Linked DNA regions of Homo sapiens: regions 1, 3, 4, 5, 6 and 7 are each linked to region 2. The links are contacts of gene promoters, found by promoter capture Hi-C in blood cells and fetal thymus (Javierre and others, 2016). All regions are on one chromosome and are shown on one strand. Each heading gives the region's core, a stretch centred on a gene start or on the middle of the fragment in contact. The rest is flanking DNA. Distances are from core to core; before and after follow the strand shown.

The links. Contacts are between HindIII fragments. The CHiCAGO score rates a contact against its expected background, and 5 or more counts as called.
Region 1: a contact is called between a fragment that was not itself captured here and the fragment with the promoter of RDH14 in region 2, in 1 of 17 cell types (total CD8 T cells). The highest score is 8.8, in total CD8 T cells.
Region 3: a contact is called between the fragment with the promoter of MATN3 here and the fragment with the promoter of RDH14 in region 2, in 9 of 17 cell types (naive CD4 T cells, activated CD4 T cells, total CD8 T cells and 6 more). The highest score is 20.9, in naive CD4 T cells.
Region 4: a fragment that was not itself captured here is called in contact with the fragment with the promoter of RDH14 in region 2 in 4 of 17 cell types (total CD4 T cells, total CD8 T cells, naive CD8 T cells and 1 more); the score reaches 12.5 in total CD4 T cells.
Region 5: a contact is called between the fragment with the promoter of WDR35 here and the fragment with the promoter of RDH14 in region 2, in 5 of 17 cell types (non-activated CD4 T cells, total CD8 T cells, total CD4 T cells and 2 more). The highest score is 13.8, in non-activated CD4 T cells.
Region 6: the fragment with the promoter of PUM2 here is called in contact with the fragment with the promoter of RDH14 in region 2 in 8 of 17 cell types (activated CD4 T cells, naive CD4 T cells, total CD4 T cells and 5 more); the score reaches 15.0 in activated CD4 T cells.
Region 7: a contact is called between a fragment that was not itself captured here and the fragment with the promoter of RDH14 in region 2, in 12 of 17 cell types (total CD8 T cells, non-activated CD4 T cells, fetal thymus and 9 more). The highest score is 18.6, in total CD8 T cells.

What each region holds. Positions count from the first base shown.
Region 1 is chr2:20,044,548-20,048,017 of GRCh38, reverse strand. The region is part of intron 1 of LAPTM4A (lysosomal protein transmembrane 4 alpha); the gene reads left to right. Among named protein-coding and RNA genes, the nearest start is that of LAPTM4A, 5.3 kb to the left of the region's middle. The HindIII fragment of the contact is 1,471 bases long and covers 916-2,386 here.
Region 2 is chr2:18,559,087-18,562,642 of GRCh38, reverse strand. It overlaps RDH14 (retinol dehydrogenase 14), which reads left to right and starts at 1,990. Exons shown (of 2, transcript NM_020905.4): 1 at 1,990-2,463. The coding sequence starts at 2,071. All of the region lies in intron 10 of NT5C1B-RDH14 (NT5C1B-RDH14 readthrough), which reads left to right. LOC105373456 (a long non-coding RNA gene) reads right to left here and starts at 2,467. Exons shown (of 6, transcript XR_007086234.1): 1 at 1,952-2,467. RefSeq lists enhancers at 1,581-1,800, 1,811-1,860, 1,921-1,970, 2,781-2,830 and a silencer at 2,061-2,570. The HindIII fragment of the contact is 4,929 bases long and covers 1,211-3,556 here.
Region 3 is chr2:20,011,265-20,014,484 of GRCh38, reverse strand. MATN3 (matrilin 3) reads left to right here and starts at 1,817. Exons shown (of 8, transcript NM_002381.5): 1 at 1,817-2,076. The coding sequence starts at 1,854. RefSeq lists an enhancer at 2,101-2,713. The HindIII fragment of the contact is 3,809 bases long and covers 1-3,220 here.
Region 4 is chr2:19,972,340-19,975,749 of GRCh38, reverse strand. It overlaps WDR35 (WD repeat domain 35), which reads left to right. Exons shown (of 27, transcript NM_020779.4): 6 at 87-220; 7 at 1,117-1,282; 8 at 2,042-2,187. Among named protein-coding and RNA genes, the nearest start is that of WDR35, 16 kb to the left of the region's middle. The HindIII fragment of the contact is 1,882 bases long and covers 992-2,873 here.
Region 5 is chr2:19,988,782-19,992,216 of GRCh38, reverse strand. It overlaps WDR35 (WD repeat domain 35), which reads left to right and starts at 2,112. Exons shown (of 27, transcript NM_020779.4): 1 at 2,112-2,225; 2 at 2,935-3,052. The coding sequence starts at 2,202. WDR35-DT (WDR35 divergent transcript) reads right to left here and starts at 2,013. Exons shown (of 3, transcript NR_110235.1): 1 at 1,723-2,013. MATN3 (matrilin 3) reads left to right here. Exons shown (of 8, transcript NM_002381.5): 8 at 1-165. RefSeq lists a silencer at 1,892-1,971 and enhancers at 2,132-2,181, 1,812-2,315, 2,332-2,381. The HindIII fragment of the contact is 12,234 bases long and covers 1-3,435 here.
Region 6 is chr2:20,349,149-20,352,619 of GRCh38, reverse strand. PUM2 (pumilio RNA binding family member 2) reads left to right here and starts at 1,776. Exons shown (of 21, transcript NM_015317.5): 1 at 1,776-2,023. RefSeq lists enhancers at 417-1,046, 1,254-1,343, 1,047-1,678, 1,679-2,308 and a silencer at 1,504-2,393. The HindIII fragment of the contact is 4,637 bases long and covers 1-2,493 here.
Region 7 is chr2:19,863,759-19,867,447 of GRCh38, reverse strand. No RefSeq gene overlaps it. Among named protein-coding and RNA genes, the nearest start is that of LINC00954, 3.3 kb to the left of the region's middle. RefSeq lists an enhancer at 3,437-3,689. The HindIII fragment of the contact is 8,711 bases long and covers 1-3,689 here.

The DNA of each region.
Region 1 (3,470 bases), core at 402-2,901, 1.5 Mb before region 2:
CCTTTCTAGCCCTCACCTCTGACTTCAAGTAAGCATAGCTTGTTTATATTTGTTAGTTTCCTTCCTTAAACTAAGGAAGTTTTGTGCCTCTGCCTTTGCATATGCTATTCCTTCTCCCTGAAATGTTGCTGTCCTCCCAAGTCACTTTCTAAAAATTTTATTAAGGAAATTTTCATACATACAAAAGTAGTGAAGTAGTACGAAAACCTCCCATTTATTCATCACCCAGCTTCAACCATTAACAACATTTTGCCAAGTCCAGATAATTTAATGGTTAGCTCACATGTTTTCGTGGTAAAACTTTCCTTTTTTTTTTTTTTTGAGACGGAGTCTCGCTCTGTCGCCCAGGCCGGACTGCGGACCGCAGTGGCGCAATCTCGGCTCACTGCAAGCTCCGCTTCCCGGGTTCACGCCATTCTCCTGCCTCAGCCTCCCGAGTAGCTGGGACTACAGGCGCCCGCCACCGCGCCCGGCTAATTTTTTGTATTTTTAGTAGAGACGGGGTTTCACCTTGTTAGCCAGGATGGTCTCGATCTCCTGACCTCATGATCCACCCGCCTCGGCCTCCCAAAGTGCTGGGATTACAGGCGTGAGCCACCGCGCCCGGCCTTTTTTTTTTTTTTTCTTTTTTGAGACAGAGTCTTGCTCTGTCACCAGGCTGGAGTGCAGTGGTGCGATCTCGGCTCACTGCAACCTCCGCCTCCCAGGTTCAAGCGATTCCTCTGCCCCAGCCTCCCAAATAGCTGGGACTACAGGCACCCGCCACCATGTCGGGCTAATTTTTTGTATTTTAGTAGAGACGGGGTTTCACCGTGTTGGCCGGGATTGTCTCGATCTCCTGACCTCATGATCTGCCTGCCTTGGCCTCCCAAAGTGCTGGGATTACAGGCGTGAGCTACCATGCCCAGCCAAGCTTTCTTTACTTCCTAGCCAGGGGGATCTGTTTTTCTCACGGTGCACCTGCAAAAGTTTCTGGATCCTTCTTGTATGTACTTATTAAATAGTACTCAGTACACATTGGTAGGATTGTCCTTTTCTCTTATTTTTCTCTCTACAGCAAGATGTTCTCCTGGAGGGAAGAGGGTGATGTCTTTATAAGGGCAGTGGCTCACGCCTGTAATCCCAGCATTTTGGGAGGCCAAGGCAGGTGGATTGCCCAGGAGTTCGAGACCAGCCTGAGCAACATGACGAAACCCCCTCTCTACCAAAAAAAAATATATATTATATTATATATATATTTATATATTATATTATATATATATTTATATAATATATATTTATATATAGATATATAATATATAAATATATATAAAACATATAAAAATATATATACACACACACATACATACATATATATATTAGCGGGGCATGGTGTGGTGGTGCATGCCTGTAGTCCCAGCTACAGGGGAGGCTGAAGTGGGAGGATCACTTGAGCCGGGGAGGCAGAGGTTGCAGTGAGCCTAGATCGCAGTAACTACTCTCCATCCTGGGTGACAGAATGAGACCCTGTCTCAAAATAAAATGTGTGTGATGGCTAACTTATTAATTAAAACATTTGAGGTGTTCATTACACATTTGTTGAATGAATGTCTCCTCCAAAAAATATTGTGAATACTCAGTTGTATCTGCATGTAACAGTAAACAACAACAAAAAACTTTTTTTTTTTAAATTATACTGTAAGTTCTAGGGTACATGTCCACAGCGTGCAGGTTTGTTGCATAGGTATACATGTGCCATGTTGGTTTGCTGCACCCATCAACTCATCATTTACATTAGTTATTTCTCCTAATGCTATCCCTCCCCCAGCCCGCCACCCGCTGACAGGCCCTGGTGTAGGTGTGTGATGTTCCCCACCCTGTGTCCAAGTGTTCTCATTGTTCAGTTCCCACCTATGAGTGAGAACATGCGGTGTTTGGTTTTCTGTCCTTGTAATAGTTTGCTGAGAATGATGGTTTCCAGCTTCATCCATGTCCCTGCAAAGGACATGAACTAATCCTTTTTTATGGCTAAAAAACGTTTTAAAGATAGTCAATTTTGATCTTTATCAGATAACAGGCTTTGCTTAGTTCTGTAGATTGACCCTCCTGTGGGTGCTTTCTCTGCATGGGAAGCCCTTATCTGGATGCCTCCTTAAACCAGACACACTGTTTTAATTATTATCTCAGTAGATACTGGCTCTGGGCAAATTACTGTGGGAAAACTGAAAAATGATTTTTTTTTTAAAGTCTCCAGAGAATCTTCTGGAATAGGTGTGGCAGTGAAAGAAGAAAACAAAGAATTCCTCTCTTCAGGCCCTGTGCTTCCATGGATCTGATACAGTTATTTTGTAACAAGTCAAATCTAACAGATTTCTTATTGTACACACTTACATAAGATGTAGAAGCTTTCAAAAACAATGCACACCACCTGATTTGACTGATTAAATTTACAGTACTGTTAACACATTGAGTGGTGAATCCGCAGCCCATGCTGCTAAAATATTGCTGCATTCTATACCTCTCCATATTGCCAAGTTTAGAAGTTAATAATTTAATCTTTTTTTTTTTTTTTTAAAGAGATGGGGTCTTGCTATGTTGCCTGTGCTGGTGTGCAATGGCATGATTATAGCACACTGCAGCCTTGAACTGGGCTCAAACAATCCTCCCACCTCAGGCACCTGACCAGCTGGGACTACAGGCACACACCACTGTCCCCAGCTTAATCATTCTTTTTAAATTACATTTTTATTAACTTTCTTTCCTGAATACAGTGAAAGGAAAAAGTGAATCAGGAATAAATATTTGTAATAGTTAGTACATAGTTGGATATTTTCAGAGAAATTTTGTATTGTAAGATTACAGTTAATTTTATGTATTTTTTGAAAAGCTAAACATGTAATTTAGAAATATCAACTTTAATCAGAGATAAGTTGCCAGGGCTTACATGTGAGCACAAGGTAGGCGTTCGTTGGTGAATATCTTTAAGATCAAAGGATGCCAGGAGCGGTGGCTCGTGCCTGTCATCCTAGCACTTTAGGAGGCCAATGCAGTAGGATCACTTGAGGCCAGGAGTTCAAGACCAGACTGGACAACATAGTGAGACTCCATCTCTACAAAAAAAATTTTTTTAAGTCACAAGGATGGGTTTTCCAGTGTAATACTTTAAGATGTAAGTTGGGGTTCTAATGAAATGATGTGATCTAATGGAATATAATTAACTCAAAGAAGATTTGGAAAAAGCTTTTAATGAAGTAGCATTGAAATTTATTTCACTGTTTCTTGGTCCTTCTGATTGGCCCTACGATTTATTTTGTTTAATATTTAGTGGTATGACCCACAGTGAAATTAAACTTGAAGTGTCTCTAGTACTAAAAGAAGATAATAGTGGATGAGCGTGTGACTTATCCATGGAAGAGAAGAAAAGTGAAGAGTTCTTTTGTTTTTTAAGAGACAGACTTAGTATTGTTGCCTAGGCTGGTCTCCAGAGCTCA
Region 2 (3,556 bases), core at 741-3,240:
AAACTACACAGCAGTTACACTGCAGGTCTAAGGATTCCTCCCTCCTCTTTTCCTCCTACCCTCTCCTGCTCTCTCTACCTCCACCTTCATCTCTACTCCACCTGTACATATGTATTCCACCCCTGGCTCTAGATGAGAGAAGACCACAGCTGAAACACATCTTCTGATGCTCCCTAATTTTATGTAAACCAGTCCAAAATATATCAGTTGTGACATGTGACACTGAGTACCTACCATTTTGTAGGTGTCCTCCCATGCAAAGACCACAAGAGGTACGCAGACACAATCCTATCCTCTAGGAAACTTGAAACCTTAACAATCTGGTCAAGGAAGTCAAATGTGCAAACTCAAACAGCCAATACTAGAAGGCTGTTTGTCTTCAGTGCCAGTGAGGGTCACACATGACCCTGAGGGTCACACATGAAGGGAGCAGAGATCTTTATAGGCTGGAAGTGGTCAGGAAAGAAAGACTTGAGGTAGCCTGTGATTTTGATGGATGGGCAAGATGTGGATGGGTAGAAAGGACAATAAAGTGGAAACATATGCTGGGGGATCAATGAGTTTGAGTAGCAGCTTCAAATTGGGGATAGGGTGGTGTAGGACCACCTCTCATGATTCCTGTTCCTGGTGCCTTGTATAATCCCCAGTAAGAGTGCTCTTTCCCACCTCTGAGCTCCATTCTCATTACTCATAAGAAACCTCCTGGAATCCATCCCTTTTTCTTTGTATTCTGACTATTAGTTGCATGTTACATCCTTCCCAAATGTAAGGGAGTGGAAGATGGATTATCACAATTATTGGGGAGTTTGTCTCAAACGACACAAGCTGTGGTTCTTTTTCCTTGTCTGGAGAACCTGCAATGGGTGGAGGGTGGGAAGTGGGAGATCACAGTTCCAGAAAGTAAGCACCCTGAGAGCAGAAATGGTGTCCCATTTCTCTGTGGCTCTAACAGGGAACAGGCAGGGCCAGGCACATATTGGATGGAGAGGCAGACGAACGAATGAGTCTTTAAAAGTAGCTTGGTCTACAGCTATGAAGTTTGTAGCTTGAAGAAGGGTCCCTGTGACACTAACCCTGATATTAATGAGGCATTTTACAGTGAGCCAAGCACTTTGCCTTCCATCGTTGTGTGTAATAGTCCTATGGAGAGGGCAGGGAGGCATTTGTAAATGGCCTGCTCAGAAGCCTATATTTACAATAAGTCCAAGCTTTTCCCACTGTACCTCTGCCAGTGTGAAGATCATTTGAAGATGGCTTTCTTTTTTTTAATAGGGACCAATGACATAATGTCTTGTTCAGTGGTTCTCAAAGTGTGGTTCCCAGATCTGCAGCAGCAGCAGCACCTGGAAACTTGTTAAAAGTGCAAATTATCAGGCCCCATCCTGTACCTATTGAATTAGAAACTCTAATACTGGGGCCCTGGTTTTTTGTTTTCGTTTTGTTTCATTCCCCCACCCCGAACCCCCACCCCAAGTCCTCCAGGTGATTCTGATGTGCATTTAAGTTTGAGAACTACTCGACCATTCTATTTCCAACTGATTCATGTTGCTTAATTCTTTGTCTCATCTATGAAAAACAGTCCTACCTCAGACTTCAGCTTGTCAGGGCCCATTCCTCAGAAGGTGAATTGAACTGAATTTACAAGTCCCAAGAGCCCTCAAAGGAAAACACACGAAATGCCCTGAGGAGTGGCATTTGTAACAGGGCCTGTACAGAGATCTGTGATTCAAAGTACTCATCAGACATTCCCATGGGGAAGTCCGCCACTACTCTGGGATTTCAATACGTATGAACCCCAGCACCCTGAACACTGTGCTGGTTGCCCAGCCTCCATCATTAGGCTGGGAGGAGCTTCCACGGAGGGCGCAGGACCCAGGGCGCTGAACTCTCACAACCAATCAGGCGACCCCCCCAGAGGGAAACTACAAGTCCCAGCATGCCCCACGCGCACCGTCAGGGGCCGACCCGCCGCGCCCCAGCGTTCTCCGCGTACAGGTGGTCTCTTGGGTTCCGGTAAGGCGGCGGCTGCGGAACTCCCGTGGAGGGGCCGGTGGGCCCTCGGGCCTGACGATGGCAGTGGCCACTGCGGCGGCAGTACTGGCCGCTCTGGGCGGGGCGCTGTGGCTGGCGGCCCGCCGGTTCGTGGGGCCCAGGGTCCAGCGGCTGCGCAGAGGCGGGGACCCCGGCCTCATGCACGGGAAGACTGTGCTGATCACCGGGGCGAACAGCGGCCTGGGCCGCGCCACGGCCGCCGAGCTACTGCGCCTGGGAGCGCGGGTGATCATGGGCTGCCGGGACCGCGCGCGCGCCGAGGAGGCGGCGGGTCAGCTCCGCCGCGAGCTCCGCCAGGCCGCGGAGTGCGGCCCAGAGCCTGGCGTCAGCGGGGTGGGCGAGCTCATAGTCCGGGAGCTGGACCTCGCCTCGCTGCGCTCGGTGCGCGCCTTCTGCCAGGAAATGCTCCAGGTGTGGGCCTCGGGGGGCCGGGCTGGTGGGGAGGGCCTGGGCACGGTGTGGGAGGGGACTGCGGGCTGGGGCTGAGCCGCGAGGGACCGCCCTGGGGTTCAGGGTGTCACCTTGGGAACCGCTGAGGCTGAGAGGAGTCCAAAAAGCCACTTTGAGGCGGCCGGGAAGCTGCAGGGTTGAGAGGGAAAGAGAAACTAACTGGGAGGGCTGCCTTCTGTCCTCTAAGGATGTCGAAAAAGAAATGGGCCCAAGAGAAAAATAAATAAACCAGTTTCTGAACGTTTCATTTCGTTACGTGAGGACCGCCCCGAAGTAGATCCATGGCCTCTGAATTGTTTTTCCTGTGTCAGAAGTGAATTTGCACCAAGCTGTGTCTTCAGAACCCCTGAGCACTGGGGGAAGTTGCTAGCTAAGGACCTCATATCAGTCCTTTAAAAAAAGTTCTCCTTCCCCCGGCCTCTGCCCCTTTTCTGCTGGGGTAAGGAGCTCGCTGCCACCAGTAAACTCAGCACCATCCTTAACGGGACTGTGGCCTGATTTCCAAGTAGAATACATTTTGGAACCCAGTGGTCATGCTCCATACAGAGACAGGAATAAAAATAACACCCAGCATTATTGAAGATCTGTATGCCAGGAGCTGTGCCAAGCATTTCAGATTTTCCTTTTTGTCTTAAATGAAAATGAAGTGTCCTTGCCTATAACTGTCATTGAAGCTACACAGTAACCCTGTGGAGTAGGCATTATTATCATCCCTGTTTTACAACGCGAGGAAACTGAGGCATAGGAAGGCTAAGAAACTTGCTTGTGGTCTGTCTCCAGAACACTTGCTTTTAACCCTTGTTCTTTCCTCCTGCTGCCTGGCAGTGAGGTGTGAGGATTTCTTTGTGCAAATGGTAAGTAATTCCACATAAGTGGATGTTCTCCGTTGAGATTGAGGTAGAAGAGTTTCTTGCAGGGATAACTGGCATTCAGAGGGCATTTGTTCAGAAGAGTGAAATTTAAAATTAGCTGGGACAAGAAAGGTGCCTATATGACGTAGAGTCTCTTGAGTCTAGAGAAGAGGTTCCCAAATTTTCTCAGTAATTTTTTCATG
Region 3 (3,220 bases), core at 568-3,067, 1.5 Mb before region 2:
GGACTCAGATTGGGCCTTATGTCATTGGCTCTCCTGCTCTTGGGCCTTCAGGCTTGGACTGGATTACACCACTGGCTTTCCTGGGCCCCCAGCTTGCAGACAGCAGACTGTGGGACTTCTCAGCCTTCATAATCGCATGAACCAATCCCTCATAATCTCAATTACTCCCCCCACCCTCTCTCTATATGTATGTGTATATAAAATTTATTGGTTTTGTTTCTCTCAAGAACCCTGACTAATGTAGGGTTCAAAGGCTTTGGGGATCATTCTAAAAGCAAGACGAAAGACAAATGTCCACCAGAGCTTGCAAATACTGTATTTATCAATCCCTCCTCTTCTTGGCATAGTTTCTTTCAAACTTCTTAGTGTCCTCTTCCCATTATTACAAACTTCTCGTTTCTTCTAAGGTCCTTCTAAATTGGTGAGTTCTCAGTGGGAGTTGAGTGACCTTTTCCCTCAGTGTGACTATCACTGCCCAATGTCATTGATACATTATACAACTCCCCATCCCCACTTCCCCTCAGCTCCTGTTAACCACCATTCTTTCTGTCTCTATGAATTTGACTACTCTAGATTCCCCATGTAAATGGAATCATACAGTATTTGTCTTTTTGTGACTAGCTTATTTCACTTAACATAATACTCTCAAGGTTCATCCATTTTGTAGCATCTGCCAAAATTTCCTCCCTTTTAAGGCTGAACAGTATTCCATTGTACGTAGATACTGCATTTTGCTTTTCCATTCACACAAAGAGAGACACTTGGGTTGTTTCCGCCTCTTGGCTATTGTGTATAATGCTGCTACCAGCATGGGGTACAAATATGAGAAGTGAGGTTTAGGATCGTGTGAGGAGGATCACTTGTAGAGGGAAAATAGTGAAATAGGACGACCAGATAGGCTCTGTTGGAACTCGCGCCCATTGTTTTAAGACGCAGCTCAAATGTCACCTGGTTTTAGAAGTCTTCCTGGTCTCCGCAGGCAGTCAGTATCTCTTTCCTAAATCCACCACATTCCCGTAGACAGACACCACATTTATGCAAATCTCCTTCTCACAGACAGTGAGTTCCATGGGGGTCCCCTGGCAGCCTCCAGCCCTGTACCATGCTAACTCTTCCGGAGAGGAAATGGGGCCTCGGGAGAGCCTTTGAAGCCTGTGTTGGTACAGGCTGTCCTTCCAGCTAACGGGGCTCTCTGGGGAATGTATGTTTGACTTTCTATTCCCGGTAATATAAGTTCAAATGTTTGTGGATATTTGAAGCTCGGATGAAAGCGTTTCTATTCATGCCCCTAGAATCTGTGAGGCCTTTTCTTTCTTTTTTTTTTTTTAAACAAGAGCCCACAGCAAAACTTGGGTTACTTGGCTGAGGAAAGGAATGTAGAGCTAGGAGCAGGGTTTCATCTTCAGCCCCAGTCGGGCAAACCAGTGGCAGAAGGGAAAGCAGAGCCCAGGGGTCCCCATCCCGTACCTGGGGCGCAGGCCCCGCTGGGGTGGGAGGGAGAGTGGAGGGCCGGGCAGGCTGCAGCCGCGGATGGCTGCCCCCCCTGCCCCGGTGTTACTGGGAGGACGGAGGTTGCGACAGCAGCCGAGCCCACCCAGTTGCAGCCGGCTCGGGGCTTAGGGCAGGGGCGGGAGGTGACCACCGCGCCGCTGGCCGCCTCGCCCAGACATTCCGTTTCTGCCGCTGGAATGCGCGGACAAGGCTCCTTGTTGGCCTTGGGCGGGGTTCGCCGGGCCGGCCTGGCGCTCGAGGCCCCGGGGCGGGGCGGGGCCCGAGGCCGCGGGACCTTTAAATCCGAGCCTCGCGTGGGCTCCTGGCCCCCGACGGACACCACCAGGCCCACGGAGCCCACCATGCCGCGCCCGGCCCCCGCGCGCCGCCTCCCGGGACTCCTCCTGCTGCTCTGGCCGCTGCTGCTGCTGCCCTCCGCCGCCCCCGACCCCGTGGCCCGCCCGGGCTTCCGGAGGCTGGAGACCCGAGGTCCCGGGGGCAGCCCTGGACGCCGCCCCTCTCCTGCGGCTCCCGACGGCGCGCCCGCTTCCGGGACCAGCGAGCCTGGCCGCGCCCGCGGTGCAGGTACAGGCGGGCGGCGGGAGGGACGCGTGAGCATCGAACGAGGAGAAGCCCAGGGCATCCACCAAGCGCGCTTCATCCCGGCCTCAGGCCGACCGTGGTGCGGGGGAAAGAGGCCCCTCCCGGATGAATCCTGTGGGGGAAACTGAGGTCCAGAGAAGGGGAGGGAGATGCCCAATATCACTCATGTGTCCAGGCTAGAGATGTGGGTCTCCTGAAGCTCTCACTCCCCTGTGATTCGGCCAGGAGCACAGGGCAGCTGGGGAGCGCAGGGGCTGCTGCCCAGCGGCTGCTGCTAAGCTCCGTCCCAGTCCTGACCTCTCCATTCAGTGAGCAAACCCTTCCTGAGACTCTGCTGTTAGTTCTCTTGGAATCTCTCCATCTCCATCCAATATCAGGGCGTGATCTTTCCTCCCCTCCCACAGTCCTCAGGCTGCCTCAGACTGGAAGGTAAGGGATGCGGGTGTGAGACCAGGAGGAGATCCGAGGAGCCGTAGGATACCCCAGGATCAAGACACTCTGGGTCTTTGGCGAACAATTCTATTTCTCTTTTTGGTCAGCAATTGATTCCTGAAGCAGAGCAAAGCTCATAGTGCAGCGAAGCGGGCAGGTCGTCTGACACAGCCCCTGACAGCACATGAAGGGAAACTGAGGCATATCAAGTTGAAGGGACTCTGTGAATCAGTATCAGAGGCCACAATAAAATTCAGGGCTCCGAAATCCCAAGCAAGGTCTCTTTCCACTGCCCCAGCCTACCAACCTCTTAATATGGTTTACATAAGATTGTATCTTCATTTCCAAAAAGCGCAGCTTCAGTCTTGCTAAAAAGAGTCTGTGCCAGGCCATTTCTGGGTATGCAGTCTCATTTGGCCAGCCACGCTGCATGCCTCAGGCTGATTTCAATTGTCTATCCCCTTCTGCATCTTTCTGGATAAGCTGAGAAGGAGCTCAAGGGACTCTTTCCTGACTCAAATACTCAGTCCCCGTATTTGAAGTGGCAGATTTGAAATGGCAAAAGCATTGCTGCTAAGGCAGGAGGTACCGGGGTCCACAGGGCTAGATTCAGCTGGTGGCTGGTTGCTCCAGGCCGGGAATTGAGGGAAAGCCTTTCTTCTGGAAGTTAATCTTACTCTAGTCCTGACCTGCC
Region 4 (3,410 bases), core at 683-3,182, 1.4 Mb before region 2:
GTGAGATCTTTAGAAAAACAAAGATTTCGAAAGCCGTTGTTGGAGGATCATGACCTTGAACAACTTTTAATAATGTTTTGTTTTAGGCAATCGTATTTGGGGAAAAGACCTGAAGGGTATACAGCTATCCCATGTAACATGGTCTGCGGACAGTAAAGTCTTACTTTTTGGAATGGCAAATGGGGAAATACACATTTACGATAATCAAGGAAATTTTATGGTAAGTAAGTGTATGCATCAGTCTTGTTTATACAATTTTATATGATTATCGTACATATCATTCATGTTTGTATATACATTTATTTTTTATGGCGGTTTGTGTAATTAAAGTCTTCAATTCAGATTTTTTTTCTTTTTCCCAATCGTCTAAATTTTGTTTTAATTAAATAAAATTTTGGTTTTCTCAAGGCAAATTAGTGCAACAAGTTCGAGTGTAGCTTTTAGTTCCAATTTTTTTTGGTAGGTAGAAAGGACGAGGTGTCAGTGCATTTAAGCAGAGAGATAATGAGTAGGGCGATGTGCAGTTTAAGTTTTATAGGTGTCTTCTGGTGTCTGAAGCCAAAGTTTACATGTAGATACCACAGGGTATTTTTGTAGCAAGCTACCAATGGTTGTTTGTAAAAAGAATGACAGACTTAAATGGTAAGTGAGAAAAATCAATCCCTGGAAAGAAGGTAAAATAGAATAGGATCAGGCAGCATAATCTGGAGAAAAATTCTGGCTTTGCAAGGTTTAGCTATCATAGATGTATGATTACTGGTGGGGCAGTTTTGTTTTTTAGCAAGGGTTAGGACATTAAGTAAATCCACTCACTGGTGGAAGTAAAATAATGAACTTTTATGTCATTTTGCTGTTTTCAAAGTACTTTTATATACTTGTTGTTTGAGTCTCATAAAAACTCAGTGTTTTTTAATCCTCATTTTTTACATGTGGGGAAAATGGACATTTAGGTGATTTGTCCATGGCCTGTATACCAGTAAGTGATTAAGCTTTAATTTGCCACCTGATTTTTAGACTGTATTTTTCAGTGTTCTTTCTACAATACTCTATTGAGTATTGTCTCTATACTGCTGTGTTTTAAAATGTAAAATATTAAACCTAACCAATTTTATTTAGATAAAAATGAAACTGAGTTGTTTGGTGAATGTCACTGGAGCTATCAGCATTGCTGGAATTCATTGGTACCATGGCACAGAAGGCTACGTGGAGCCTGATTGCCCTTGCCTTGCTGTTTGCTTTGATAATGGAAGATGCCAAATAATGAGACATGAGAATGACCAAAGTAAGGAATTTTTCTGTTTAAAAAATTTTTTTAATTTCTATTTTTTTTTTTTTCTTTTTGAGATGGAGTCTCACTCTGTCGCCCAGGCTGGAGTGCAGTGGCACGATCTTGGCTCACGGCAACTTCTGCCTCCCGGGTTCAAGCGAATTTCCTGCCTCAGCCTCCCGAGTAGCTGGGACTACAGGGCGTGCCACTATGCCTGGCTAATTTTTTATATTTTTCGTAGAGACGGGGTTTCACCCTGTTAGCCAGGATAGTCTCTATCTCCTGACCTCGTGATCCACCTGCCTCAGCCTCCCAAAGTGCTGGGATTACAGGCGTGAGCCACTGTGCCCGGCCTCAATTTCTAATTTTTAACTTTTTTTTTTTTGCGACAGGGTCTTGCTCTGTTGCCGAGGCTGGAGTGCAGTGGTGCGTTCTTGGCTCACTGCAGCCTTGGCCTCCCAGGCTCAAGGTCTCAGCCTCCTGAGGAGCTGGGACCACAGGTGTGCACCAACTCCTCCAGCTAATTTTTGTATTTTTCGTAGAGACAGGGTTTCACCATGTTGCCCAGGCCGATCTTGAACTCCTGGACTCAAGTGATCCGCCCGCCTCAGCCTCCTAAAGTGTTGGGATTATAGGCGTGAGCCGTTGTACCCAGCCCTGTTTTTTTAAAAATGTGGAAAGTTTTAAAAATGTTTAAAAGTTGTTCTTAAGATTATAAAGTTCTCTAGGCTACGTATTTTCCCACAGTGACCTCATTTTTCTCTTTCTGACTAGATCCCGTTTTGATTGACACTGGCATGTACGTAGTAGGCATCCAGTGGAACCACATGGGCAGCGTGTTAGCTGTGGCAGGCTTCCAGAAGGCAGCCATGCAGGACAAAGATGTGAACATTGTGCAGTTTTACACTCCGTTTGGTGAGGTAAATGCATTCAAATTGATCTTCTTTCTTTCTATTTAAATGTGCAGTGAGTAAGGTAGAGGAAAAAATAACAAAGGAAACGGTGTAAACTTATCACATTTTCTTTTAGGGACATTTCATCTTCATAGTATAAATCTTTGTTGTATTTTATCATGGAATTTTATAATCTTATAGTTTTATAATTATAAAATAAAAATTACAATTTTATACATTCAGAAAACCAGAAGTTTAACATAAGAAATCACCATGGAGTAGTTATTTTGAATATTTTCTCTGTGATCTGAATATGTGTCTCTTTTCATAGCCAGCTTTTGAGTAGTATTTAGTATAATATAGTTGTTTCAGATTAATTTTTCTGATTTTTAATGTGATATTTTAAATGTGTTTAGATGTTAAACATACATATCTGTCTGTCCTTCCTTCAAACTTCTAATACTTTTAATTTGTTGCAAAGTAATCAGTTATTTGAAGAAAATTTAATAATTAATCTTAGGTGATGCTACATTAAAATAAAAGCATTGTTTTCATAAATGTACATATGAGTATTATCCTTCTCAATAGTATTTTTAATAAATTTAATTTTAAAAGAATTTTCAGAAGTAGCATTGGAAAATGTCAAGTAGGAGAATTAATATATTGTGAATTTTAAAGAATTTAGAAAGTGAGAGCTTATTAATAACTAAGCTTAATACGTTTTTTGAATGTCTTATTTTCTAACCCAGTACTATATTTTGTCCCTTTTGAATACCCTGTTGGCTTTTATAAATTCGCCATAGACTACAGTGATATATATTTTTGGCTGCATAAAAGCCTATACCAGTTGTTTTAATGTTATTTTTATATATTTTAATAATTTCTTTTAGGGCAAGAAATGATGTCTTCTGATGCTTTTGAATCAGTATCTCAAAGTTACCCAGTAGAATATACTGTAGAACGTAGATGCTCTCTATACATTGTCAAACGACAATATTTCTCGTAGATGTAAAAGTGAAGGAAAAAAAAAAGCATAGTTTTCAAGGTTCCTAAATAATTAAAAATCTGCATTCTAATTATTTCTATATTTATAGCCTCCTTCTTAATTCTTGTTCTTTATTGGTTATTTTTGTTGGTTGCCATTTACTTATTTATCATAATGTTTTATCTGCTTATTTTTGTTAGTTCAGCCTTCCCCAGGTAGAAAAACATGGGTTCTAAAGTCTGTTTGTTTGTCTTGCAAAACAATG
Region 5 (3,435 bases), core at 863-3,362, 1.4 Mb before region 2:
ACTTGCAACTTTGAGAACAAAACAGTCCTTTAAATTTTGCACTGCTCAATTCTGTTTTTCGTTTGCATTGTCTTTAATATAATAAAAGTTATTACCTTTACATATTATCATGTCTATTTTTGATGACTCATCAATTTTGTCTATTAAAGATATTTCTTTAAATTATACTGAATTAACAGTTATTTTGATATTCAACAGTTTCTTATCAAAAGACAGAAGTTTGATTCTCCTCCTATAGTTTAATCTCACACTCCTGAGGCTAAAAGTGTAAGTTCAGGTTCAAAAGAAAGGCTTCAATATAAAATTATCTAAATTTGGATAAAATAATGATGAGCTTTACATTAATATAAGCTCCTGAGAAGCAAATATATCCTACAGATGTAAATATAAAATATAAACTTTAAGGAAGGAACAAAAACTAAATATACCAAGGAAATATATAAAGCATCTCTTACTTTTCAAAAATTTTGAAAGGGTATGACATAGAGCTACAGTAGTATTTTCCAGACTTTTTTGAGCCCAAAATCAGTAATACATATTAATATACCACAGAGAAATGGTGGTATAGAAGGAATAAATGAGAGTTCATGTGCAAGAAGGGAAAGATAAAGAGAGGTGAGTTTTCAGGTGTCACCATCAGTAACTAGCTTCAACTAATTATGTCTTGACCAGTTTATTGGAAACTCCTGGGTTAGATAATACTAATTTGTCTCATGCGTCCAGTATAGGGAGCCTATGGACAGGGGCCAATGTATCTTAAACAGACACACAAACAATGGAAAGCAAACATTATCTGAATGGGATTGGGTTAAGTTTGGAAAGAATTCCTCATGGAGACTGATTTGTGCTGGTTTGGCTAGGCACAACTGGCCTGTTAAGAGGGTAGGACCATATATAAAGTGGCTTGGGAAGCAGAGCCGGATGGAATGTTGCCCTGCAGAAAGCATATTGGCTTACTTGAGGTGGGGGCTCCCTAGTAAAAACATTTAGGATTGAGGGAAGATCTGATTTTGGATGGAGTTTAGATTTGCTAGGAAAGGCACTAGGGACTATTGTCAATTCTATAATAGATTGTGCTGGGTGAGACAAATCACCCAGGTCAAAGGATTGGAGGATTTTTATTTTATTTTTGTCTGAGATGGGAAAAGACTCCAAGTGGGGAAATTAACTACTGATGCATAAATTACATGCTAGATTATGGTAAAAGGGAAAACCAGAAATAAAAACATAGGTGAGACCAAATAATTTCATGAGTGGTTCTACTTGGATTTCTGCCCTATGCCTTAGACTTTGAGGCTTTGTAACTCTCAAGCATTCCAAAAGGACAAAGGAGAATGAAGAAAGAAGGTAAGAAAAAGAAGAGAATATGTAACAGTCGACTCTAGACGAGAAAACACCAAACGCTCAAATATTTGTAAAATGGGAGGCCATGCCCCAATAGCAATTGTACGCTGTAATTACCCAACGTTTACAGAAATTCCTTTAAAAGGACCCTCGGGGTTGCGGTAATAATTAAACTGTTAAAAAATATCAAAACAAGCGGAATAAACAAAATCTTCTATTCCTAAATTGCTCTAGAGGTTCTCCAATCCCCAAAGACACAGAGAAGGGTTGTAAGATCTCAGTACGCACATTTGCACTTTCATCTGGCCAGTGGCGCCAGCCTATCAAATACAGTAAATGGCTTTTCCCTTTCAAGAATGTTGGAACTTTGGAACTTACAAAATACTAAATAATTTGCCCTTATTCGAACGGGCGCCTCTCCTCTTAGGTTTATAGTAATGCCACCTGAGGCGCGGCTCCATAGCGATCATCACAGGTGTGGCGGGAGGGAGGGCGGCAGTGACCACGAGACGGGGCGCAGAGGGCGAGCGCACGGCTGGCAGTGACAGGTCGCGACCCAGCTCCTTGCGGAGAGCAGAAAGGCCCAGACGCCAGGGAACAGGACTAGCCCAGCTACCGCCTCGCGCCTCGCGCCCTGCGCCCACAAACCCATCGACGTCCGCGCAGGCGCACTACGCCGGTGCCCGGTGCGAGGGCGTCACCGGAAGTGTCCCGCGGCGCCCCGGATGCGACCGGGCAACAGCGGTTGCCAGGGCGACGGGAGCTTTCCGGAGCTGCTGGTACTCCCGATTGGAGACGTAGAACCGTTACTTGTCGAGGGCCTTAGCGGCCGCCGTGACCCTCTCGGGGATCCCACGATGTTCTTCTACCTGAGCAAGAAAGTGAGTTTCCTGGGGGGCGTCCTCGTTTCTCCGCCATTCCCGCAGCCTGCGGCGATTCCCGCTGCCTTCCCGAGAAGCCAGGCTCCTTCACCCGGTCCTGGTCGTGGCTTCGCCATTCCGCAGCCATCCTTCCCGCCGGGTCCAGCCTCCGACCTCTTCCTGCGGTTCCCAGAGCCTCAGTCTTTGGCCGAGCTTGCTGCCCTCTCGCAGCACTCTCCCATTCCTGCCCCTGGCTAGGTCCTTTTGGGTGGCTTGAGGATAAGTCGCCACGTGCTACCCTATGTTTCCTCCTCCACTTGTTGCTGATCCACGTGATTTAAACTCTTTGGATCACCACGAGCCATTGGGCAAGAGAAAAGAAATAACAATAGGATAGCCTAAGTTGTAGGTAAAAAGGAAGAGGGACTGGTGGTATGGATTTATACCCTCTCCCCGTCCTCCCTTTAAAAAATCCATCCGGTGAGACTCTGGCGTTGGCTTCCTCCGCAGTCACTATCCTTCTCTTTTGTGCACTTCTTTCCCTCTTTCCCAAATGCTAGAGCCCGGGTCAGTTCAGGGGACCATGCCCATTTTCACAACAGCTCATTTTTTTTCTGCAAGGCCGTTCGTTTTTCTTCTTGGAAGATTTTCTTCAGCTTTCATCTCCTGCAGACTTACTTCCCAGCTCCTTCGTGAAAAGTTGCTAGTGCGGCTGTGGTTGCTTTTTCAGATTTCCATTCCCAATAACGTGAAGCTGCAGTGTGTATCCTGGAACAAGGAACAAGGGTTCATAGCATGCGGTGGTGAAGATGGATTACTGAAAGTTTTGAAATTAGAGACGCAGACAGGTAAATGAATGCAAGCCCACATGTTTGGTAGTAAATTGGCTAATGTTATTTGTTCAGTGCGGTCTACTCATGTTATCTGTCAATATGCAGTTCTGATTATTTTAAAGGGAAAACTACCAAAACATTTTATGGTGTTTTTCTGGAGTATATTTGCAATAAAGTTCAGAGAATGTTGAATGTAAACATCGGATGGTTTTTGCTGAGTTATTAATGGAAAATGAAAAATAATGAAGAATGAAAATAAGTCACTGTGTTATGCTATGTCTAATTATTGTACTATATTATTAGGAGTCTAAAAGAAATCCTGTGAGTCAACATTTCACTAAGAAAATCTGGCAGATTGTTTACAGGTCTGTGTCATCCTTTCTGCTTATCAGATGCAT
Region 6 (3,471 bases), core at 527-3,026, 1.8 Mb before region 2:
CATATTCTAAGGGAGGGCCTGTGATGGATTTATCTAGTTTCACCCACACTAAGCAACTGTATATAAAGACTCTTCTGCTATTATCAGCTCAACGGAGGGGAAAGGAGAAGGAAGGCAAAATGTGTACACCCCAGCATCTCCCATTCTTACTTGATCGTGAGACATTTCTTAAAGGAACATCTATTAACACTGAACACAGCACACTAGGGAAATGCTGTCGTGGGTGATGGGGAGCAATGAGATGGTTGAAGCAGAGGCCTGAGCGCCAGGAATTGGATTTGCATTTTAGATAGCAGTGAGCAGAACTGATTGGAGGGAGTGAGACTGGAGACAGGAAAGCTGATTAAGAGCCAGCTACAGAAATCCAGACCTGGGAAGCAAGGCTAGCATTAGTGAGGAGGCAGAGGAAGACTGTCTCCAGAATTACTTGGGAAGTAAAAATCTGCGAGGCTTGGTAAGTTATTTATATTTGGAGTCGGGGTAAGAGGAAGAGACAAGGATGGTTCTCAGAGGTGTAATTTGGGGAATGAATAGGTGGTGACACTGCCAATTACAGAGACAGTACAAGAGTGGGGGGTAGGGGATGGGTGTGACTTCAGTTTTTAACATGCTTGGTGACAAGAAAATTCAAGTGAAAATATCTAGAAGCCTGAAATATGAGCCTAAGGTAGGGGCTTGGGATGGATTTCAATGTCAGACATTTTTCAGTAATAGTTAAAAACCGAAGAGCCCATGTGTATTCAACAGGCACTTGCGGGCACAGTGTGAAACAAAACACAAGGTCCTTGCCCTCGTGGAGCTCACAGTCGCCTAGGGAAGACATATATTAAGCAAACTATACGGGAGGCCCTGAATATTTACGAAGTGCAGCATGTCAGGAGAGCCAGGAGCTGTGCAAACAAACCATCAAGAACAAATCGGACACGGTGCCTGTTACAGCTGTGTGACCTGGAGCCGGTTAGGTTAGAATCCTGGAATCACCACTGCTTTGCATGGGGGTCCAGGACAGCAAGGCAGATTTGGAGTTTCCAACTAGCCTGTAAACGGGGAAGGAGAGAGCGCTTAGTACGCGAGAAAAAGAAACAGCCAACGAGTGAGAATCACTGGCCCAGCTGGAGAACGACCTGAGTTTCCTTTGTGTGCACCGGGACCAAGCACTGGGGGCCGACAATTTGCTGAGAGCTGGCTCCACCTGCCTGGGGTGCAACCACGAGAAGAGTGACAGCCCTCTCGCAGGGTACAATCTTCCACCCCCAGATGCATCTCCCTCGTCTGGTTGTGGGGAGGTACAGAGTGAAAGTTAAAGGCCTGAATTAACGTCCGGCTCTTGTGGGCGCCAGCACTCTGGAAGCGAAATGCCAGGAGTACCCCACGGTGGGCGGCGCGGGCGCAGACACCCGCACACCCAGTTGGGGGAAAACAGTGAGCAACCGGGTAGGAAGCCGAGGGTAAGAAGATTCAGAAGGCGAGGCCCCACGCGGGAAGACAGTCGAACACAGCGTTTGGCAACAGTACGCCTGCGCTCTCCGAGCCCGCCGCGGCGGAGCCCAGGAGGGAAGCGCGAGCCCGCAAGGTGAGGGCGGGGGAGGGCACGCCGGAGAGGCGGCCAAACACGTGAGAGCGCGGAGAACGTGCGCACGCGCAGGGCGCCCCCGGCCCGCGCGGCGGCAGCGCGGGAGCAGGGACGCAAGGCATTAAAAGGAGCCGCGCCTTGGTGAGCGCTCCCCCTCCCCTTTCTCCCGGGGTGCACTGCGCGCGCCCGGTGGGCGGGGGGGAGGGGAGGGCAGGCGGCGGTGGCAGCCATGTTGTTGTGAGTCTCTGTGTCTCACCCTCGGTACTTCGGTGGTTCGGAGGAGGAGGGGGAGGAGAAGGAGGAGGTGGGGTGGGGGGGGAGGGTGGTAGGTGGAGAAAGAAGACATTGCCGCCACCGAAGGCGGAGGAGGGGGAGGACCGCCAAGAGCGACGCCGCCGTGTGCCCAACGGTCGGTGTCCCCGGCTGAGGCAGCGCGGCCGCAGCAGCCCTGTAAGTCAGTCCGCGTTCGCTCTTTCTCCGGTCCTTTGGCGCCGTCGAGGATGGCTCCCCAGGCTTTGTGCGGCGGCCTCGGCGGGAGCCGATCGCCAGCGGGAGGGCGGATAGGGCCTGCTGAGTGCCCGGGCCGGTGCGGCCTGGGGCCCGCTCGCACAATGCAGGGGGAGGGGTGCCGGAAGGGGGTGTGCGCGTGCGGGGGAGGGGGCGCCGCGCCGGCCGCTTTCCCGCTTCCTTCCCTCTGCGGGGCCGCCGCCTCGGGGGCGTGGGGCGCCGACCCGGTTCTCCCTCCGATTCGGCGCGCTGGAGGTTAGAGACCGAGCTGTCGGCCCTAGGGTTCGGAAAGAGGGGAGAGGCCGGGTGGCCCCAGAGAAGCATGCGGATTGCAAGTGGGTGAAGAGGAAGGAGTGGGTTTATGAAAACAAGTGTGGGCATTTTCAAAGGCCCGAGTGTGTCCGGGAAAAGCTTGCCGTGGACAGATGTGGGTATGAAGCAGTGACTTGGATTCGCCTTGTTTAGGTTATAGGAACGGATTTCGATATTCAGAAAAATATGTAAATTAAAACCAAAGACAAGATTAGCGGCTTCTACTATTTGAGCAGTAGTTTTGTATCTGAATTGGGTCAGGTTTTGGGGAAAATGTTTAAAGTTTCATGCCCAAACACGTGTAAAAGTTAGTGTTGTTTCTGAAAACACAGCCAGAGAAAACCTACTTAACTTAGCTTTTTATTCTAACATACGTAAACTTTTGAAGAGAGGAATGTATTGCCAGCATATTAGGTGCAATAAGACATCATGTTAGGACTTAGTACTTTGAGATTTTTACTTGTTGAGAAAACGGGGCAGATGTTTTGGTGAAGGAAAACATGAGAAAAATGCTTGTAAACGGTGAAGAGAAATGTAATACCTGTAAAGGTACTGTATGTCAAGAAAACAATTTTAATAAAGGGAGTTACCGAAGGATTTTAAAAGCTTGTTTAATGGTTAGATTTCGTGTTTAACAGGTGACTCTTCACCATGTGACCTGGAGTATTGGAAGATGACTTAAGGAATCCTGTAAATAAAAAAAAAAAAACAAAAATGAGTATTTTCAACTTGTTTCTCTTCCTAGCCTCCTTTTAAACAATGATTTACTTCATTTGCTCAATCATTATGAATAAAAATGATGGCATTTTCCGTGCTGCAAGAATTTCTTTAAAATTCCGATTTTTGGTGAAATTGCATTGTGTAGAATTTTCTTGGTGTGCATGAGGGCAGTTTTTGTATGCAGAAAAGGTTTACGATAATCTTAAAAATAAAATTTTATTTCAGAAACCTGGTTCTTGAGGATTTAAGTCCAGTTTTTAAATTTTGTTTACAGGTCTAGCTATTTTGAGTTATAATTGCCAGTAACTTACGCATTTTCCAGCAATTTAAGCTGTGTTTAACACATGCTTTCCTTAATT
Region 7 (3,689 bases), core at 934-3,433, 1.3 Mb before region 2:
TGTGAAGACAGAAGCAGAGACTGGAGTTCTGCTGCCGCAAGCCAAGGAACACCTGCATTCACCAGAAGCTGGAAGAGGCCAGGAAAGATTCCTCGAGGCTTTGGAGGCCCTTTCCACAAGTTGGTGTCAGATTTCTGGCCTCCGGAACTGGGAGAGAATAAATTTCTGTCGTTTGAAGTCACCAAGTTTGTGATGCTTTGTTGCAGAGGGCCTAGAACAGGGATACAGCCTCCATTTTGCAGGTGGGAAGGACATGAGGGCCCAGGCTTATTCAGGGTCATTACTAAGTCCAGAGTTGAGATCCTAACCCAGGGTTCTTTGTCTCCTAGGCCATGAGACCAGGTGGAACATTTTCCCCCAGATGCCTCTCTGGTGTGCAACTGAGACTTCCACGGGGAACTCTGTAGCTGTAGGAATGGAGTGGGTGAAGTGAGCTCACACACTGATGAGCTCAGACCGTGAGTGCAAGGACCTAGGCTCTAGTTCTGGCTCTGCCACTTATTAACCTTGTGCTCTCAAATGAGTTATGTGTGGGCCTCCTAACAGTCTGAATAGCATCCTGTTGCTGCAGCTCCATGGTCTTTGCTTAGTGCCCTTGAGTTGTTGAGATGTGCAGACTTGTTTTACTCCATGGATGCTTTACAAGTGTTGCCTCTTTAGGGGTAGTGGCTACATGAGCAGAAATGGCACCATACTTTCATTTCTATTTGGTGGCTACTTCTCTTGATGCTTTAACTGTTACTCATACCCCTAAATCAGCTAGAGGGATTTGGGACACACCGCCCTATAACATGAAGCCTGTAGAAACTGAGTACTTGGACAGGACAAGAAAAGACAGGGATTTCTTTTCTTTTTTGAGACACAGTCTCACTCTGTTGCCAAGGCTGGAGTGCAGTGGCGCAATCTTGGCTCACTGCAGCCTCAGCCTCCCAGGTTCCAGTGATTCTCCTGCCTCAGCCTCCTGAGTAGCTGGGATTACAGGTGGGCACCACCATGCCCGGCTGATTTTTGTATTTATAGTAGAGTCGGGGTTTCACTGTGTTGGCCAGGGTGGTCTTGAACTCCTAATCTCAGGTGATCCACCCACCTCTGCCTCTCAAAGTGCTGGAATTACAGGTGTGAGCCACTGTGCCCGGCCAAGACATGGATTTCTAAGTGCTGTATAGCTGGGTATGGTCTCATTTAAGGATTCTGCAAAAAGATCTAGTGCTAGCTTGTCCACTGATAGACACTAGCATATGCAACTACTGAACACTTGAAGTGTCACCAGTGTTACTGAGGAACTGAATTTCTCATTTGAATTCATTTAAAATAAAAAATACTGGCTGGGCACAGTGGCTCACGCCTACAATCTCAGCATTTTGGAAGGCCCAGGTGGGAGGATCACTTGAGCCCAGGAGTTCAAGACCAACCTGGACAACATCGTGAGACCTCATGTCTACAAAAAAATAGAAAAAAAAAAAAAAAAAGCTGGGGATGGTGGTGCATGCCTGTGGTCCCAGCTACTCAGGAAGCTGAGGTGGGAGGATTGCTTGAGCCTGGGAAGTCAAGGCTGCAGTGAGCTATGATCTCACCACTGCACTCCAGCCTGGGTGACAGAGCAAGACCCTATCTCCAAAAACAACAACAACAACAACAAACCCAAAGCCAACAATTCAGTTACTAAAAAATTTTAAAGTACGGCAGTGGAGTGGGTGAAATGAACTCACACTTCATGTGAACACTTTGTTTGGAACAACAAATTCACATTTAAAGTATGTGAATCTGCCACTGCAAAGTTTATGAAATCTAAATACAGATCAAGTATTTTCAATGAAAATTTAGCACCCAAACTGAGATGGGCTGTTAAGTGTTAAATATATACCAGATTTTTAAGAGTTAGTATAAATAAAAGAATGTAAAGTACCTCTAACATTTTCATATTGTGTCAAGATGATAATATTTTAGATATACTGGGTCAAATAAAATAATGTTAAACAATTTCACCTGCTTCTACCACTTACTCGCTCTGTGGTTTTGGGCAATTCCCCTAAACTCTCCAGGCCTCTGTTTCTGCTTATCTAAAGTCACTGAGTGGAAAGGCCCTGCAGGCTCATCTCAGGCTGTGGCTGAGGGAGGATGAGGACACTTAGTGGGAGGGGTAGTTCTGCAGCCATACTGTAAGGCTGGGTCTTGGGAGGGGTCACAGCCCCTAGTACAACAGGAATGCCCACCCCCACCGCTAGCATGAGGGTACATCTTCCCAGGGCTTGAAAGTAAGATTTACTTGACACACTCTGCCTAAGAATTGGCTCTGAGCTTGGTTTGTTGGTTCTGTCGAAGGTAGTAACAACCGCATCCTTCTAGCTTCTTGAGCCCTTCCTTCCTCTCCACTGAGCTTCTGAGCTGGGTGGGCCTAGGACCCTCCCTGTCCTCTGTCCCTGGGCTCCAGGGCCCTGCCTTGGACCTGCCTGAGTAAGGGAACAAGTAGAGGGGCCTGCCCTGCTCTTCTCTGGGCTTTCCCAGTCTTCTCTAGGCGGCTGGAGGGGTGGGGATGAGGGCAACAGGGGACAGCAGCTTCTAGGATGGATACTTGGGGTTCCAGGCTGGATAATTGTGCTGGTGGTGGGGGGATCGGTGTGAACTTGACCCTGAGGCAGTCAGCAAGGGGCCCTGGGCAGCTTGCACGTGTATGTTTTGGTGTGGGGGTGTGATCAGGTCTGTGTGAGAGGAAGGGCAGAGGCTTTGCAGAACAGCAGAGGCAGATGTCTCTGATTTTGATCACTTAGTTCCACATACCTGGGGCTGCCTGAGATACGGTGCAGCTGTTTTCTGTCGTGCTGATATGCAGACAAAGCTAAAGAAGAGCCCGCGACCACTGAGCACCTGTTACGGGAAAGGTACCACGTGGGGAGCTTTAAGCACCTGCCATCATCGAATCTCCGTGGTAACCCAAGAGAGGAAAGGCCCCATAGAGAATTTCCCGAGGCTGCAGAGCTGGGCGGGGCAGAGATCGGATTTGAACCCAGCTGTCTGATATCAAGGCTTGGGGTCTTGAAGACAAATGGCTTACCCAGGGTGGGGTGGCTCACGCCTGTAATCCCAGCACTTTGGGAGGCCCCAGGCGGGCGGATCACTTGAGGCCAGGAGTTTGTGACCAGTCTGGCCAACATGATGAAACCCCATCTCTACTAAAAATACAAAAATTAGCTTGGTGTGGTGGTAGGTACTTGTAATCCCAGCTACTCGGGAGGCTGAGGCAGGAGAATCGCTGGAATCTGGGAGGCAGAGGCTGCAGTGAGCCGAGATCGCGCCATTGCACTCCAGTGTGGGCGACAGAGTGAGACTCCATCTCAAAAAACAAAACAAAACAAAACCACACACACACAAAACACAAACAAACAAAAAACAAGTTGCTCACCCTTAGCTGCACGTGTCCTCAGAAGCGGTTCACTATAACCCCAGTGGCCCTGGCTTCAGGGATGGGAATCGGGGAGGGGCCAGTCCTGGAGCAGAGCCTGGCCTGGAGCCCAGGTGGCGCTGAGTTCGCTCTGCTCCTGACGCCAGTCCCTGGACCCTGCGGTGTGTGTTCCCAGGGCGGGCAGGAAGGCTCTTAGAGGGTGAGCCAGGCTGTCCACAGGCGGCCTGAGGGGTCTGAATGGGAGGGCCAAGCGGCCTAACTCATGCGCGGTTTGCTCTTTAAACAGCTG